Regions from separate parts of the Homo sapiens genome. Here regions 2, 3 and 4 are each linked to region 1. Evidence: promoter capture Hi-C in 16 types of primary human blood cells and fetal thymus (Javierre and others, 2016). All regions are on one chromosome and are shown on one strand. Each heading gives the region's core, a stretch centred on a gene start or on the middle of the fragment in contact. The rest is flanking DNA. Distances are from core to core; before and after follow the strand shown. Region 1 holds the start of ZNF22 (zinc finger protein 22). Region 2 has its middle 74 kb from the start of LINC00839. Region 3 overlaps LOC105378268 (a long non-coding RNA gene). Region 4 overlaps BMS1 (BMS1 ribosome biogenesis factor).

Evidence for each region. Contacts are between HindIII fragments. The CHiCAGO score rates a contact against its expected background, and 5 or more counts as called.
Region 2: a contact is called between a fragment that was not itself captured here and the fragment with the promoter of ZNF22 in region 1, in 1 of 17 cell types (naive CD8 T cells). The highest score is 6.2, in naive CD8 T cells.
Region 3: a contact is called between a fragment that was not itself captured here and the fragment with the promoter of ZNF22 in region 1, in 1 of 17 cell types (total B cells). The highest score is 6.2, in total B cells.
Region 4: a fragment that was not itself captured here is called in contact with the fragment with the promoter of ZNF22 in region 1 in 2 of 17 cell types (activated CD4 T cells and total CD4 T cells); the score reaches 8.3 in activated CD4 T cells.

The regions. Positions count from the first base shown.
Region 1 is chr10:44,998,686-45,002,554 of GRCh38, forward strand. It overlaps ZNF22 (zinc finger protein 22), which reads left to right and starts at 2,238. Exons shown (of 2, transcript NM_006963.5): 1 at 2,238-2,293. It overlaps LOC124902530, which reads left to right. Exons shown (of 3, transcript XM_047426129.1): 3 at 2,095-3,698. The coding sequence ends at 2,724. ZNF22-AS1 (ZNF22 antisense RNA 1) reads right to left here and starts at 2,118. Exons shown (of 4, transcript NR_126421.2): 1 at 1,845-2,118; 2 at 1,601-1,731; 3 at 632-737. RefSeq lists a silencer at 2,278-2,627 and an enhancer at 2,354-2,854. The HindIII fragment of the contact is 6,687 bases long and covers 1-3,869 here.
Region 2 is chr10:42,547,818-42,551,686 of GRCh38, forward strand. It overlaps the pseudogene ZNF37BP. Among named protein-coding and RNA genes, the nearest start is that of LINC00839, 74 kb to the left of the region's middle. RefSeq lists an enhancer at 3,789-3,869. The HindIII fragment of the contact is 3,766 bases long and covers 1-3,691 here.
Region 3 is chr10:42,638,901-42,642,769 of GRCh38, forward strand. The region is part of intron 1 of LOC105378268 (a long non-coding RNA gene); the gene reads left to right. Among named protein-coding and RNA genes, the nearest start is that of ZNF33B, 2.3 kb to the left of the region's middle. RefSeq lists a silencer at 2,681-2,975. The HindIII fragment of the contact is 1,839 bases long and covers 406-2,244 here.
Region 4 is chr10:42,783,142-42,787,010 of GRCh38, forward strand. BMS1 (BMS1 ribosome biogenesis factor) reads left to right here. Exons shown (of 23, transcript NM_014753.4): 2 at 1,221-1,429; 3 at 2,341-2,531. The coding sequence starts at 1,254. Among named protein-coding and RNA genes, the nearest start is that of BMS1, 2.3 kb to the left of the region's middle. The HindIII fragment of the contact is 1,222 bases long and covers 1,579-2,800 here.

The DNA.
Region 1 (3,869 bases), core at 988-3,487:
CAAACAGTGCCTGGCACACAATAAGCACTCAATAAGTGTTAACTATTATTATACTAACAGCTAGGCTGAAGGCATAAAACCCTACCTGCTTTCTCTCCCTGTCTTTTTCCCATTCTCCTTTACCCTCCTCTCCTTCATATATTTTTCTGGCTCTCCCTCCTCTCCATCCTTACTGCCCAGGACTCTGTCCACACTTAGGGACACACACCCCTTTATTTCCTGACTTTCGTCTCTCTCTTTTTAAAAAATCCATCCTCGTTTACCCAATGCTTTAGTTGACATACCTCTGGCCCTTCTATGGCTGGCCCAGTTGTTTTCAGGTATAGGAAAAAGGGATAATCCATCTTTATGTAGACATTAAAGGAGTTAGTTTTAATTAGTAACTACCTTACTAACAAAATGGCTTTTTAAAAATTATCTTTTTATTTTAGTGTACATAGAGCAGACAGTCCCAACGGGTCATGTTTGCTCCTGACGCTTTTCCTAAACCATTTCTAGATCTCTGGCCATTGCCCTTTACCCCAAACTCTCCAACCACCAGCATCAACCAACTTATAACAATTTAATAATAAAAGTAACAACGACTCTCATTTCTTCTGTGTTATACATTGTGCTAAGTGCCTTACATTACCTCATTTAATCACTGCAATAGTCCAGATACTCTCTAGATTGCGAGTGGAGCTTCTTTGTCCAGACCTCATTCAGCTTTGTGCTTTGCCATATGCAGAGACAGCTCCCTACAGAGCAGAAAGCCCCAACTTAAGAGAATGAACCTATGACTTAGTTTAGCCTCCACCAACAAACCACTGTATTACTTCAGGCAGGTCAGCCTCTCTTGCTTCAGTTTACTGATTTGCAAGACAGATATGATAATCTGTGCTTCATGAGACTATGGTGAAGATGAATAACCAGAAGATAAGATGTAAAAGTACTTTGTAAACAATAAGGCATCTTATAAATTCATTCATTCAACAGCTATTTACTGAGTGTCTGTTCCCTGCTGAGCACTGTTTTCAGCACTGCAGACACAATAAAGAACTAAAGAGACAGATCATGAGAGGCATCGGGTGCCACTGCGAGGTCCTTGGCTTTGCTCTAATAAGTTGGGAAGCCTTTGAAGGTTTTGAACAAATGAATGACATGATCTAACTTAGGTTTAAGAGGATTACTCTGGGGCCGTGAATAGACTGTAGGGCAACCCGTCTGGAAGCCAATATAATAATCCAGAAGGTGGATGAAGGTGGCTTGGTGGTTATAGCAGTGGAAGTGTTGAAAGTGGCTTGATAATGAATATATTTTAACGATGAAGCCGACAGAATTTGTGGATAAATCACAGGTGAATTTTGGATGAAAAAAAGAAGAGACAACAGTGACATCAAGGTTTTTGGCTTGAGCAACTGGAAAGATGATGGGATCTTCACCCATCCCTGGGAAGAAGACTGTTGCAAGAACAGGTTAGGTAGATATCAGGAATTCATTTGGGGGGTATGTTAGGTTTGGGATGTCCATTACACATGCAAATGCAGCTCTTGAGTAATCAGTTCGATATACAAGTCTAAAGTTCAATAACATTTATGTCCCACAGTCAGACTGGAGTTACCAATGCGGGAGTCTTCAGCATGCAGCAATAGCATTGGAAGCCAAAAGGCGGAGGAGCTCCCCAGGGAGTGGGGGAACACGGAGGTCAGCTGGTCAGATGACTGAGCACGGCCAGGATGGCTGAGGAGGAGCCTGGAAGGAATAAGAACAAAGAGAGATCATTACTAATGAGCAACAAAAGGGGTGTGTTGAAATCAGACTTTGGAGCCACAAAGAACCATTCCAATTCTGGGTCGTCCGCTTACACACGGTGAACGGAGCACATTTCTTCTCTGAGCCTTGGTTCCTTTCCTGTAAATGGAGTATAACCACTCCCATCTTGCAGGAGCTTTTTGGTGATAATTAAGGTGACTTCGTGAAAAGTACCAGGGTCTCAAAAATCTCAAAATTTGTGGAAAGTATGCAGTTTCTAGGTTGGAGAGGCTAGAGTTTGGTTTCAAAAGCCTCGACCACACACAGGGGCGGTTACAGCTCTTGAGGTCCCGGGGGTCACAGGACGCCTTCCGAGTTGGGGGGAGGAGAAAACAAAACCACAGGAAGAAACGAACAACGCTTTCGGGTGGGCCCGGGACCATAGAGGGTCGCTCCGCCACTTTCCTAGAGCGACCGCGGCGGCGCCAGAGCGCGGCGAGGCCCTCACTTCCGGCGGCGCGGGAGGCGCCCAGCGAGCCAGAGTGGTGGCTGGTCCCGCGCGGTGAGTGGGATTGGGGCACTTGGGGCGCTCGGGGCCTGCGTCGGATACTCGGGTCCGCTCGGGAGCGCGCTGGCCGCAACGAGGGCGGCGCGGGCCCGGGCGATGGCGTGGCTTGCGTCTCCCGCCTCCGGGCAGGGCCTGGCCGCCGGGCGGGGGCGGGAGGGCCACGCGGGCCCAGGGTGGGGCCGCGGCCTGCGCGGCGGGCGGGCCGGGTCAATGAGGAGCGGCCGGCGGAGTGCTGGGAACGGGAGGCTTGGACTGGGGGCCCGGGCGAGGCGCGGCCCGCGGCGGGTGGAACTGGGCGGGTGAGCAGCAGCCCCGGCCCCTTCCGTCGCTCGGAGCGTTCGAGGACTAGATACGTGGAACAAATGCTTAGGCAGCACAGGGCTGCTCTGAGCGGTTTTCAGATTCAGACTCATTGCAACTTCTAACATCTTGATGGTGTTGCCACTTTATCATTACCCTCCCCATTTTACGAGGAAACTGAGGCACATTCCAGTTAGCTGGGTGTGCAAGAACAGCAGCTTCTGTCACTCAGGTTTAACTTCGTGCTTGCCCCTGCTGGGGAGCTATGCAAAGCACGGGTCGCCGCGCTGGACTGAGCAATGGAAGATGTGGCTGCCACTAAGAGTACAGGCTCTGGAGTCAAACTGCTAGGGTCTGGGAACCCGGCCAGTGCCTTCTAGCATTGTGCCCTCGTTTCCTTAACTTAAAACGGAAATAACTGCATAAAGGTGCCAGGAGAATTAAAGAGCTAGCACAGAATCAAGTTACACAGTGTCTGGCACATACTAGTATGATTGCCTCATCCGTAGGTGGATTTGACAGTCTGAGTTTCTGACTAGATCTGACTTCCATTGTATTAAATGCGTGTGCTTTTATGTATAATGACCATTATAGTTATTAAAAAAAAAAAAAAGCAACACCAACACCATGTACCTAACACAATGTCTCCTGTGTGGTAGATGTTCTGTAAATATTTGCTTAAGTTAAGGAGTGGGTAGTCCTAACTGTAATCTTGTGTTATATGCGGCTTACTCTTACGCTGACCATAATTACAGCTGATGTAATTATTAAATATCCAGATAAAGTCCTGGACCTAAAGTCTCAATTATACAATAAGATGAAAGGAAGGCAAGAAAAATTATGTTTTTGTTTTCATTTATTTGCTTTATATGTTTGTATGCAAAGAAACCCAGAATAATTGTTTCTATTTTAAATTCCACATTCTGACACAAGATAATGAAAAATAGTTCCAATAATTTTATTGCTTTTGAAGTTCTAGATTTTCCGACATTGCCACCTATGTGGGGTTTGTAGGGGTTTTTGTTGGTTTGTTTTGGCCGTTATTTTAAATAGCCACAAGTCAGCCTTATAAATAAATAAAATCATTTGAAATTTTGAATTTTGCAGCATTTGGGTATTCTAAAAATTCCATCCTAGTTTTACATGTAAACTCATTTTCTCCCCCCTCTCCTTTTCTTGTGTCCTACCTACCATGCGTTTTCTACTCAGTTTCATTCCACTTTCTGGTAAAAGTTCTTTTGCAGTTTTTCTGTCTCCGAAAACAGTACTT
Region 2 (3,869 bases), core at 559-3,058, 2.5 Mb before region 1:
ATATAGCAAAAATAGTGAAACTCATAGAAACAGAAAGTAGGATGGTGGTTGCCAGGGGCAAGGAGGAGGGGAAAATGGGGAGTTATTGTTTAATGGGTAGAGAATTTCAATTTCCCAAGATGAAAAAATTCTGGTGATTAGATGTACAATATGAATATACTTAACACTGCTTCTGAACTGTACATCCAAAAATAGTTAAGATTGCTAAAGCAAAAAACTAACAATAAATAAAGATGCCTGCTTTGGCCACATATATTCAACATTGTACTAAAAATTTCAGCCAGAGGAATTAGGCTAAGTAAATAAATAAATAAACCCAAATTAGAAAGAAAGAAATGAAATAGTTTTGTTTGCAGATGACATGATCTTATATGCAGAAAATACTAAAGAATCCACAAAGAAACTACTAGAAGTAGGAAACAAATTCAGCAAAATTACAAGATACAAGATCAACACTCAAAAATTATTTGTGTACTCATTACAATGAGCAGTCAAAAAGCAAATTAACAATTCCACTTACAATAGCATTTAAACAAAAGAAATTTTAGGCTTGTGGGCCATCACAGTCTCTACTGCAACCAGTCAACTCTGCCCTCGTAGTGTGAAAGTACTCACAGGCTATACATAAATACATGAGTATGGCTGAGTCCCGATAAAACTTTATAGACACTGAAGTCTGAATTTCATATAATTTACGATAGCATTTAAATGAAAAACTATTTAATAAATTTAAGCAAGGATATGCAACACTTGTACACTGAAAACTACAAAATATTAATGAAGGAAAGAAGACCTAGGGAAAAAAAATCTTATGTTCATTGATTATAAGATTTAATATTAAGATAACACTCCCCAAAGTGTTATCACCCACTCTAATACTTACCCAATCCAATACTTATCAAAAACTCAACATACTTTTTTGCAGAAATAGAAAAGCTAACTAAAAATTCCTATGGATTGCAAAGCACCCTGCTGTGGAAAACTGTCGGTTTCACAATAAATTAAATGTAAAATTACCATATCACCCAGCAATTTCACTTGTACGTATATACCCAAAACAATTGAAAGCATGTATTCAAACAAATATTTGTACATGAATGCTCATAGGAGCACTCTCCACAATAGCGAAACACAGGATGACCCCCAATGTCCATCAACAGATGAATGGATAAACAAAAGGTGATATATCCATATAATAGAATATTGTTCAGTCATAAAAAGGGACAAAGTACTGATATACAACTACAACATAAATGGGTCTTGAAAACATTATTCTAAGTGAGAGATCAGACACAAATTGTATGATTCCATTCATATGCCATATCCAAAATAGGCAAATCTATAAAGACAGAAAGGAGATTATTGGTTGTTAGGGGCTGGGAGCACAGCGGGGAAAAGGGAGCAACTGCTTATTAAGTTACAATACTGCTTATTAAGGGTGATGTGTTTCCTTTTGGTGTGATGAAAATATTCCAGAAATAAATGGTGGTTATGGTTGTACAACATTGTGAATGTACTAAAGTCACTGAATTCTATACTTTAAAATGGCTTGTGAATTTCATGTGATGTGTGTTTTACCACAATTTTTTTTTTAGGTAGAATCCCTCGAAAGTTATTGCAAATATTCCAGTTCTGCCCAGTCTCTAAGGCTGTCACAAAGCCTGCCACATCCTAACAACCCATGATCACCCTAGCCTACCAGGACTGTTTCTTTAAACAACCATGAGTCCTAATGCTACACAATTCATTGGATTTTTTTTTTTTTTTTTTTTTTTCCTGAGACGGAGTCTCACTCTGTTGCCCAGGCTGGAGCGCAGTGGCACAATCTCGGCTCACTGCAACCTCCACCTCCTGGGTTCAAGTGATACTCCTGCCTCAGCCTCCTGACTAGCTGGGATTACAGGCACGCACCACCATGCCCAGCTAATTTTTGTAATTTTAGTAGAGACAGGGTTTCACCATGTTGGTCAGGCTGGTCTCGAACTCCTGACCTCATGATCCACCCGCCTTAGCCTTCCAAAGTGCTGGGATTACAGGCGTGAGCCAATGTGCCCGGCCTATTTGAATTTTTTAATCATATACTTTCTTTTGCTATCTGTTAAGTTTTCCCCTGGACTGCACATGAATTACTCACTTTGTTGTACTACTTTTTTAAGTACCTGCAAGACTGTCATCAGAAGTTTCACAATGTCACCTAATAAAGCCCACCGACAAACTGTTTTATGTTCCAGTTTCACAACTGTAAGATCACAAGATCTGCATTCACCTATATGACATTTTTGTCTTACTCTTCATCAACTCTCTATCAGAAATCAGCAAACATTTTCTGTAAAGAGTCACACAGTAAATATTTTAGGCTTGTAGGCCATTACAGTCTCTGCTGCAACCAGTCAACTCTGCCTTTGTAGTGTGAAAGTACCAACAGGCAATACATAAATACATGAGTATAGCTGAGTCCCAATAAAAATTCATAGACAATGAAGTCTGAATTTCATACAATTTCCAAGCAAAATAATACTCTTGGTTTTTTTCCCTCAGCCACCTAAAAGTATAAAAACCATCCTTCATTTGTGGACCATAAAAAAACAGACAGTAGGCTGCATTTGACCCATGAACTGTAATGTGACCTCTCCTCTATATTTTCCAGGATGTTATTTCTACTTTCATATGAATGTATAGACATTTTTTAAACCTCAATAATTAGTTTTAAGCAAAACTGTGAAAAAATAAACAACTTACCTGGGATGTGATCATATTCCACTAGTGTTGGCAGAGCAGAGAAAACCGAGAGGGTGTAGCTTACAAACAAGAAAAGAACATGAGAAATGTCACTTGCCTAAAAATGTCCACCTCCCAGCTGGCAAAACATCTCTAAAAGGGAGATACTCACACGTCCATGCATGACTCTGGCATGGTTATGTACTGCTTGGACACATTAGTTTTCAAATGTGAAAACGTTTGGTTTTCTACTGACTTATAAACAACTTATGCTGTACTCTAACAGAGTATGCAAACCAATATATTAAACTAATTAAGCAAGTTAGGAAAAGCCAAAGAATGGAACATAATACTTTCATTAAAACTGATGCTAAACAAAAATATTCAGGTTTTAATCTTTATTATAAACCAGAGAATCCCAACAAGGTTTTGAAAAAAGTGATGTGGTATTTTTCAGCCCAGTTTTTTTTTGTTTGCTTTTTTGAGACAGAGTCCTGCCCTGTCACCCAGGCTGGAGTGCAATGGCACAGTCTTGGCTCACTGTAACCTCTGCCTCCTGGGTTCAGGTGATTCTCCTGCCTCAGCCTCCCAAGTAGCTGGGACTACAGGTGCGCACCACCACGTCGGGCTAATTTTTTGTATTTTTAGTAAAGACGGGGTTTCACCATGTTGGTCAGGCTGGTCTCGAACTCCTGACCTCGTGATCTGCCGGCCTCAGCCTCCCAAAGTGCTGTGATTACAGGCGTGAGCCACTGCGCCCGGCAGAGCCCAGTTTTTTTGGAAGGAAAACGAACTTGCTCTAACTTGGTTTCAGGTTCTCAAAACCATCTTTGGATTTTAAAAAGCAAACGGATTTTTTCTTACTCTGTTGTCAATGCAGCAAACACCTGCCTGAGTCCTCAAGCGACTCAGTGTCTGTTCTTGACTCTGCCACAACAAAATGTGTCAATGTCAACAGTCACTTAACATGTTAAGCTTGTTTCCTGTCCACCCCACCCCATCCCATCTTTTAAATAAAGCCGAAATAGATAACTTACAGACCTTTCTTGCGGCTGCACCTCTGATTCTGTAAGATCAAGATGGGGGCATCCGTACATCTCTAGTTGTGCTGCAATATGCCAGCAGCTCAACATCGAGAACGAGCGAGTAAC
Region 3 (3,869 bases), core at 75-2,574, 2.4 Mb before region 1:
GGAAGTAGATCTTATTGATACAGTTTAAAAGACTTTGACACTATCAGCGATTCTTTGAGAGCAGGGATGGGGGGGATGGGGGAGGTGCCACAGGAAAGCTACTTCATCAAAATCGTTAACGCAATAAACGGAAATTGAAAAGTCAGAAAATAGACATAATCCGAAAGAAGAAAATAAATGTCACATGATTTCCCCTGTGACATTAAAATTGCTTGACTAAATGGAAATACATTTAGTCTATCTGTACCTTTCTTAGGAAGACAAAATTCCTAAAAGAATATCAACAAATTTTTTTATGTATTTTTTCTCTTTGATCTTTAGTGTATTGTGTACTTTACAAAAGCATTGTCAACTTTATCCAGAGTAAGTAAAAAACTAAATGAACAGCCATTATACGTTTTAAAAAGCTTGAAAAAATGCCTGAGAAATATCTATATCTATCTATATATATAATATTGCTCTATTCAAAGTAGTTTGGCACCTGCTCCATGGAAATAAGACACCATGATTGAGAGTATTCTTTAATGTGTAGTAAATACAGCATTTCAAAACAGTGAGGGAAAGAATGGAGTATTCCAAAGAGCATGTCATTCCTAACAATTTGGAATATAGAGATATATATAGATCACACGTGATAAAATTCACATGTATACAGTATTGAAACATTTAAACGAGTATAAATTTTTGAAAATTGACATGTGGGCCAGGCACAGTGGCCCACACCTGTAATCCCAGCAGTTTGGGAGGTGGAGGCAGGAGGACCACTTGATCCTTAGAGTCCAAGACCAGCCTGGGCGTTATAGTGGGACCCCTGTCTCTACAAAAAATTAAAAATAACAATTAGCTGGGCATGTAGGCAGGCGCCTGTGATCCCAGCTACTCAGGAGGCTGAGGTTGGACGATCACTTGAGCCCCAGGTTGCAGTAAGCCATCATGGCACCACTGCACTCCAGCCTGGGTGACAAAGTGAGACTTTGTCTCAAAAAAAACCAAAAAGGGATGTGATACCAAAGACAGAAACTATAAATTTAATATCAGTTACATTTTATAATAGAGAAAAATAAGCAGCTCCATTCCAGCAAAACTTTTTAAGTCCATTATGAGAATTGAAAGAAATGCAAATATGGCCGGGCATGGCAGCTCACGCCTGTAGTCCCAGCATTTTGGGAGGCTGAGGCGGGCAGATCATGAGGTCAAGACATTGAGAACATCCTGCCCAAAATGGTGAAACCCCTTCTGTACTAAAAATACAAAAATTAGCTGGACGTGGTGGTGCGCACCTGTAGTCCCAGCTAGTCAGGAGGCTGAGGCAGGAGAATCGCTTGAACCCGGGAGGTGGAGGTTGCAGTGAGCCAAGATCGCACTACTACACTCCAGCCTGGTGACAGAGTGAGACTGCATCTCAAAAAAGAAAAAAAGAAAAAAGGAAATGCAAATATTTGAGTAAAAATATGTGAAACATATTGAAATTTACATTTTTAAATTTATGCTTTATATACTGAAAAGTTCACTTTATTTGTTGCATAATTTTATGAGTTTTGACAAACGCACAGATTTGTGTAACCACCACCACAAGCAAGATACAAAATTATTTCACCTGTCAATAAAATTCCTCCATGCTACCTTTTGAAAGTCAGATTCTCTAACCACTCTTAGCCTCTTGCAGCCACTATCTAGTCTTTGGGCCTGTATGTTTGCCTTTTTTAGAATATTATATAAATGGAATCATACAATATGCAGTCTTTGAATCTGGTATCTTTTACTTAACACAATGCAATTGAGATCCTTCCGTGTTGTTTTGTGTACCAATACTTCTGTTTTTCTTGCTGTTAGAAACAAGTGCCTGGTGCCGCAGAGAAAACCAGCACAAAGGCAGAAAATTCCTCAGCAAGAGAAATTTACTTCTGCAGAAGGGTGCAGGTTATGCCAGTCATGATCACAAGAGAACACCGAGAAGGGCAGGGCAGGGGTTTTTATCCCTGATGCAGTTCCTAGCACTTCTGTGTCCCTTCCCCATTGGCTGGGATTAGACCTCACAATCAAAGCTAACTCGATTGGCTAAGGTTTAAAATTGACAGGGTCTATTAGGCGGGAAGGAAGGGGGACTGTCCATTACTAAGCGGGAAGGCATATCCGGACTTGTCTGGGCATGGCAAAGGCGGGAAGGTTGTTTACAGAACAGGTAGCTTGGAGACAAGGAAGTACAAGGAAGTTGGTCTTGAGCAACAAACAACAGGGAACTAAAGCTTTCTGAAGAGTAATTTGTCAACTCTGACATTGCTGACTCCTATTTCTTGGTATGGATTTACCAGCTTCCTTGTCCATTCCCCAGTCCAGGGATATGCAAGTTGTTTCCAATTGGGAGAAATTGTAAATAAATAAAATATTTTTAAGTTTAAGATTTGAAAAGATTGTAAAAAACACTAATATACACCTATGGTATGGGCTTGGGGAAATGTTTATTCCCAGTGTATTAATCAGGATTCTCCAGAGAAACAGAACCAATAGGAGGGAGTAAGGGAGAAAGAGACATTGATGATGAGAAATTGGTTCACATGTCTATGGAGGCTAAGAAGTCCAACAATCTGTCATTTGCAAGCTGGAAATCCAAGAATGCTGGTGGTGTAATTCTGGTATGAGTCCAAAGGCTTGAGAACCACGGAAGCCAATGGTGTAAATCCCAGTGCAAGGACAGGAAAGGATAAGATGAAATGTCCCAACTCAACAATGAGGCAGAAAATATGGGTGAATTCCTCCTCTCTGCCTTGTGTTCTATCCAGGCCCTTAGGGGATTGAATGATGTCCATACACATACGGAGGGCAATCTGCTTTACTGAGTCTACTGATTCAAATGCTAATCTCATCTGTACACACCCTCACAGATGCACCCATAAGTAATGTTTAATCCAGACACCCTGTGACCAAGTCAAGTTTACACATAAAATTAACCATTAACCATCACAGCTATTCTATTTTTTTTTTTTTTTTTTTTTTTTTTTGAGACAGAGACAGAGTTTTGCTCTTGTTGCCCAGGCTGCAGTGCAATGGCATGATCTTGGCTCACTGAAACCTCTGCCTCCCGGGTTCAAGTGAGTCTCTCAAGTAGCTGGGATTACAGGCATGTGCTACCGTGCCTGGCTAATTTTTTGTATTTTTCCTAAAGACGGGGTTTCTCCATGTTGTTCAGGCTGGTCTCGAACTCCCGACCTCAGGTGATCCACCAGTCTCGGCCTCCCAAAGTGCTGAGATTACAGGCCTGAGCCACCACACCTGGCCACAGCTATTCATTTTTACGGTGAATTTGATTAACTCTGGAGGCTCATTTTTTCCTCTCATTTCTTCTTCGGTTTTTGTACCTTTTTCCCTTTTACATTTCGTTGACACCTAATAATTGTGCATATTTAGGGGATATAGACTGATATTTTGACATGTGTATAAAATGTATAATGATCAAATCAGGTTAATTAGCATATCCCTCACCTCAGACATTTGTGTGTGTGTTGTAAGCATTCAAAATCCTCTCTTCTAGCTTTTTGAAAATACACAATAAATTACAGTCAATTATATTTATCCTACAGGGCTGTGGAACACCAGAGCTCATTTCTTCTATCTAGCTGTAATTTTGTATTCATATACCAACCTTTCCCCATCCTGCCCTCCCCACTACCCCCTCACCCTCTAATGCCCATAATTCTACTCACTACTTCTATGAGCCCCAATTTTTTTAGCTCCCAAATATAAGTGAAAATGTGCAGTAATTATCTTTCTGTGTCTGACTTATTTCACTTAATGACATCCAGGCCTATCCATGTTGTGGCAAATGACAGGATTTCATTTTTATAGCAGAGTAATATTCCACTGTGTTTATA
Region 4 (3,869 bases), core at 940-3,439, 2.2 Mb before region 1:
AGAAGAAAGACAGGGAGAGAAACATTAGTACAAGTGCTGAACTAAAATATAGCAGAGAAGAAACATAATCTCTGAAATCACACAGCTATTCGGTTTCAAAGCGTTCCTAGCGCCCAGCTCTCCTAACTCCTGGCCAGTGTTCTTGACATTATGGTAATACATAAAGACTTTGTTTCCGCTGGTGTGTGTCTGTGGGAAGCCTCTGACTCACCTCCGTGCTCCAGTAGCACCCTGTGCAGCCTTCCAATGTCGCCCTTATTGCGTGGCGCGGAAGATAATAGTTTGGATTTCCTCTGCAAGTCAGATAATAGCTGTATCCACTTACTGGCACAGTGCCTAGCACATCGTAGACAGACACAAATATTTATTCAACGGAATGAATACAGTACCTTAATTGAATGAAATGGCATCCTGCTCCGCTTTTTTTTTTTAATCAAGCTGTCAGATTTTATGCAGCCCGATTTCCTAAAATAACTCACTAATTCAGTGATTGCCAATTTATTAGCCACAGATTCCCAGGTAACTCAGAAATCACTGGAAGGGTCTCTGTAAGTTCATGGGGTCTCCAGGTGTCATCTAGAACCAGTCCTATCTCACACGTACAGCTATTTCTATTTTTCAAATGTATGTAGATAAGTTGTAATTTAGGAGTTTTACAGAGTCAACAGGTACTAAAAGTAATACTGCGATCATATTGGAGGTTCATAAAAACGTTTCACATTTTTTTATTAAAATTTAAGTTTTAGTTTAAGTTAGGAAACCACTTCATCAGTCCAGTTGATACCTGGGTCTGAGCTGTCCAGTATGGTAGCCACATGTGACTATTTGGAGTTAGAATGAAATTAATTAAAAACTCATTTTTTCAGTTTCCCTAAGTATATTGTAAGTAACCACATGTGGCTAATGGCTAAATGGCTGAAAAGTACAGATATAGTATATTTCTATCCTTGCAGAAATAGATACTGCTGATGTTGACACTTAAGATGAATAAAAAGTAACTTAACCATAAAATGTAATCTTAAGAGAGGTAACTCATCTAATTTATAGCATAACAGAGAGAAATGAAATTGGGGATGGTTAAGCAGTTTCTACCCTTGTTCAGTGAACAAATACATCATCTCTTCATAAAGAAATAAATGAAATTTACTGTTTTTCCCTGGGTATTGCCTGGATTGTAAAATGCTTCTCCCATCTCCTTACCCCAACCTTCTTCCTTGTAGGTTAGAGTTACTTGTTATTGGTAAATAGCCACTATGGAGGCTAAGGACCAGAAGAAACACAGAAAGAAAAACAGTGGACCCAAAGCTGCAAAGAAAAAGAAGCGGCTTCTGCAGGATCTCCAGCTAGGAGACGAAGAAGATGCCCGGAAGAGAAATCCCAAAGCTTTTGCAGTTCAGTCTGCTGTGCGGATGGCTCGATCCTTTCACAGGTATGTTAGGCTACGGTCTGGTCATTCTTCCATTGATTCTTTTTTTAAATAGTAGGAGCCTCTCACAGGTGACATTTGGATTCACGAGTCTAGTCCAGCTCCAAAGGACATGGAGATTCATGGTGTGTGGCTTTCACTAAAACGTGAGAAGCTTTTCCCATAGAAGCTGCCTTGCCTCCAGCATCTGCATACTGGTTAGTGTTTATTGCCCAGGATACAAGAATTTATAGACTTTGTTTGTTCCTAAATTTTAAACTGTTTCTATGGTGATAAGTGTGCTTTTTCCCCCCAGGTATGTTTTACATAGTTGTAATATAAAATACAAAAATTACAATATTTAATACTAACATAGCTTTATTTAGTGAGCCCTTGTGATATGCCTAGCAGTGTACTTTAAACATTATTCAACTAAATCCTTCCAGCAGCCTTACCAGAGTAGGAATCATTCTTGCCCTCATTTTATGGGTAAGAAAACTGAGATCAAGAAAACAAGTTACCTCCAATCATATAACCAGTAAGTAGGAGAGCTAAATGTAACTCCAGCGCCTCTGCTCTTATCTGCTATGATGTACTGCCTCGCTATTTACCTTTTGGTTTTTTAAAAAACTATTAAAATCACTCTTAAAACAGTCAGATTTAAGGAGTGTTTAATTTTCGCTCTCTATAGTATTGAAGTCATCTTGTTACATCTTTATTGAACAGCAATTATTTGGATGGGGCCAGAAGTTAGCAAGTTAATAATTGACAAGTTAATTATATTTATATATTGTCTGTTGTACTCTCTATAAAATGTGCTAAAGTACTCATAGCTATAAGTGTACCAAAAAAGTCTACTTATAAGGTTGATACCTTTTACTCTATTTTGAAAATGAGTTTACTATTTATTTATTTGTTTATTTTTTAATGAATAGGACTCAGGATTTGAAGACAAAAAAGCATCATATTCCAGTGGTTGATCGAACTCCACTAGAGCCCCCACCAATAGTGGTAGTGGTGATGGGACCTCCAAAAGTTGGAAAGAGCACTTTGATACAATGCCTCATTCGGAACTTTACCCGGCAGAAGTTGACTGAGATCAGAGGCCCTGTGACGATTGTGTCAGGTAGGAGATGCCACCACAGACACAGAGTTGGCGTGGCTGTTGTCATCTGAGGGACATGCATGCGTTTGTTGTTTTCTTGAGTGGAACATGTTAAATATTGTCATATCATGGGACTTCTCTTATACTTAGTATTACTAAGTTGGCTATAGCTTCAGAAAAGGGTAAGTTCCCAGAGATAAGGATGTGATAATGTTCACATTTCCTCCCAGCACTCTGGGAGGTTCCAAGGCAGGAAGATACTCGAACCCAGCACTCGGGCTGGAAAATCAAGCTTTGCTGCTCGATTGCGACACCAGCCACAGTCCTCTTCCTCCGTGTAGAAGGATGTGTGGTCCAGCCTCTTAAGGTGATGCTTTCCTTTTCTTCCTGGTTTCCTCCTCCATTTTTTGTATGAGAAATGATAATGTTCACTATGTCTTATCCTGACTGCTCTTTGGCTTTGCCAAACATGTTCCTTGGAAGGGCCTAGCAGGCCTAGTCACCGTGAACACATCATTTAACAGATAGCACGCACCTCCTATGTGCCAGGTGCATATGCTTGCCTTATGAAGCCACATTCTGGTGGAAGTGCGAGTTTTCTCTTTTTCCTGTGAGAATTGTCTGCTTTGGGAGATGGTGACCTTTCCGAGTTTGAGGGAAAATGAAACAAACTTCCAGTGGTAGAATGGCAATGTACACTCTGAAATCTCTTGTTATTGCAATAATATAGTTGGATTGAGGCTTTTCTTTATCTTTGGAGCATCCATATTTTCTTTTCCCTTTTTTGAGACAGAGTCTTACTCTGTGGTACAGGCTGGAGTGCAGTGGTGTGATTACGGCTCACTGCAGCCTCTACCTCCCAGGTTCAAGCATTCCTCCTACCTTAGCCTCCTGAGTAGTGTATGCCACCACGCCTGGCTAATTTTTCTTTTTTTTCCTTTTTTTTTTTTTTCTGTAGAGATGGGGTTTCCCCATATGGCCCAGGCTGGTCTCAAAACTCCTGGGCTCAAGGGATCCGCCTGCCTTGGCCTCCCAAGTTGCTGGGACTACAGGCGAGAGCTACTGTGCCCAGCCCATATTTTCTTGACTGTTTTATTTTTACCTTAATTTAGAAGTAATTATTGTTATGAATATTCTGTTGCATTATGTTTGAGGATGTTTGTAGCTCTAGTGGGAATACGGGAAGTTTTGATAGAGGCAAAGACATTGGGCCTGCAGCTGAACAGCAGGATCATGGTTATCATGGAGTCTGTGCAGTCAGAATTTTCCCTTTTTGAGCACTTTTATTCATCTGGGTAGACTTTTGATGTTATTTAAATTTAGAACACAGCAAGAAAAACAGAATGGAATTTATTTTAT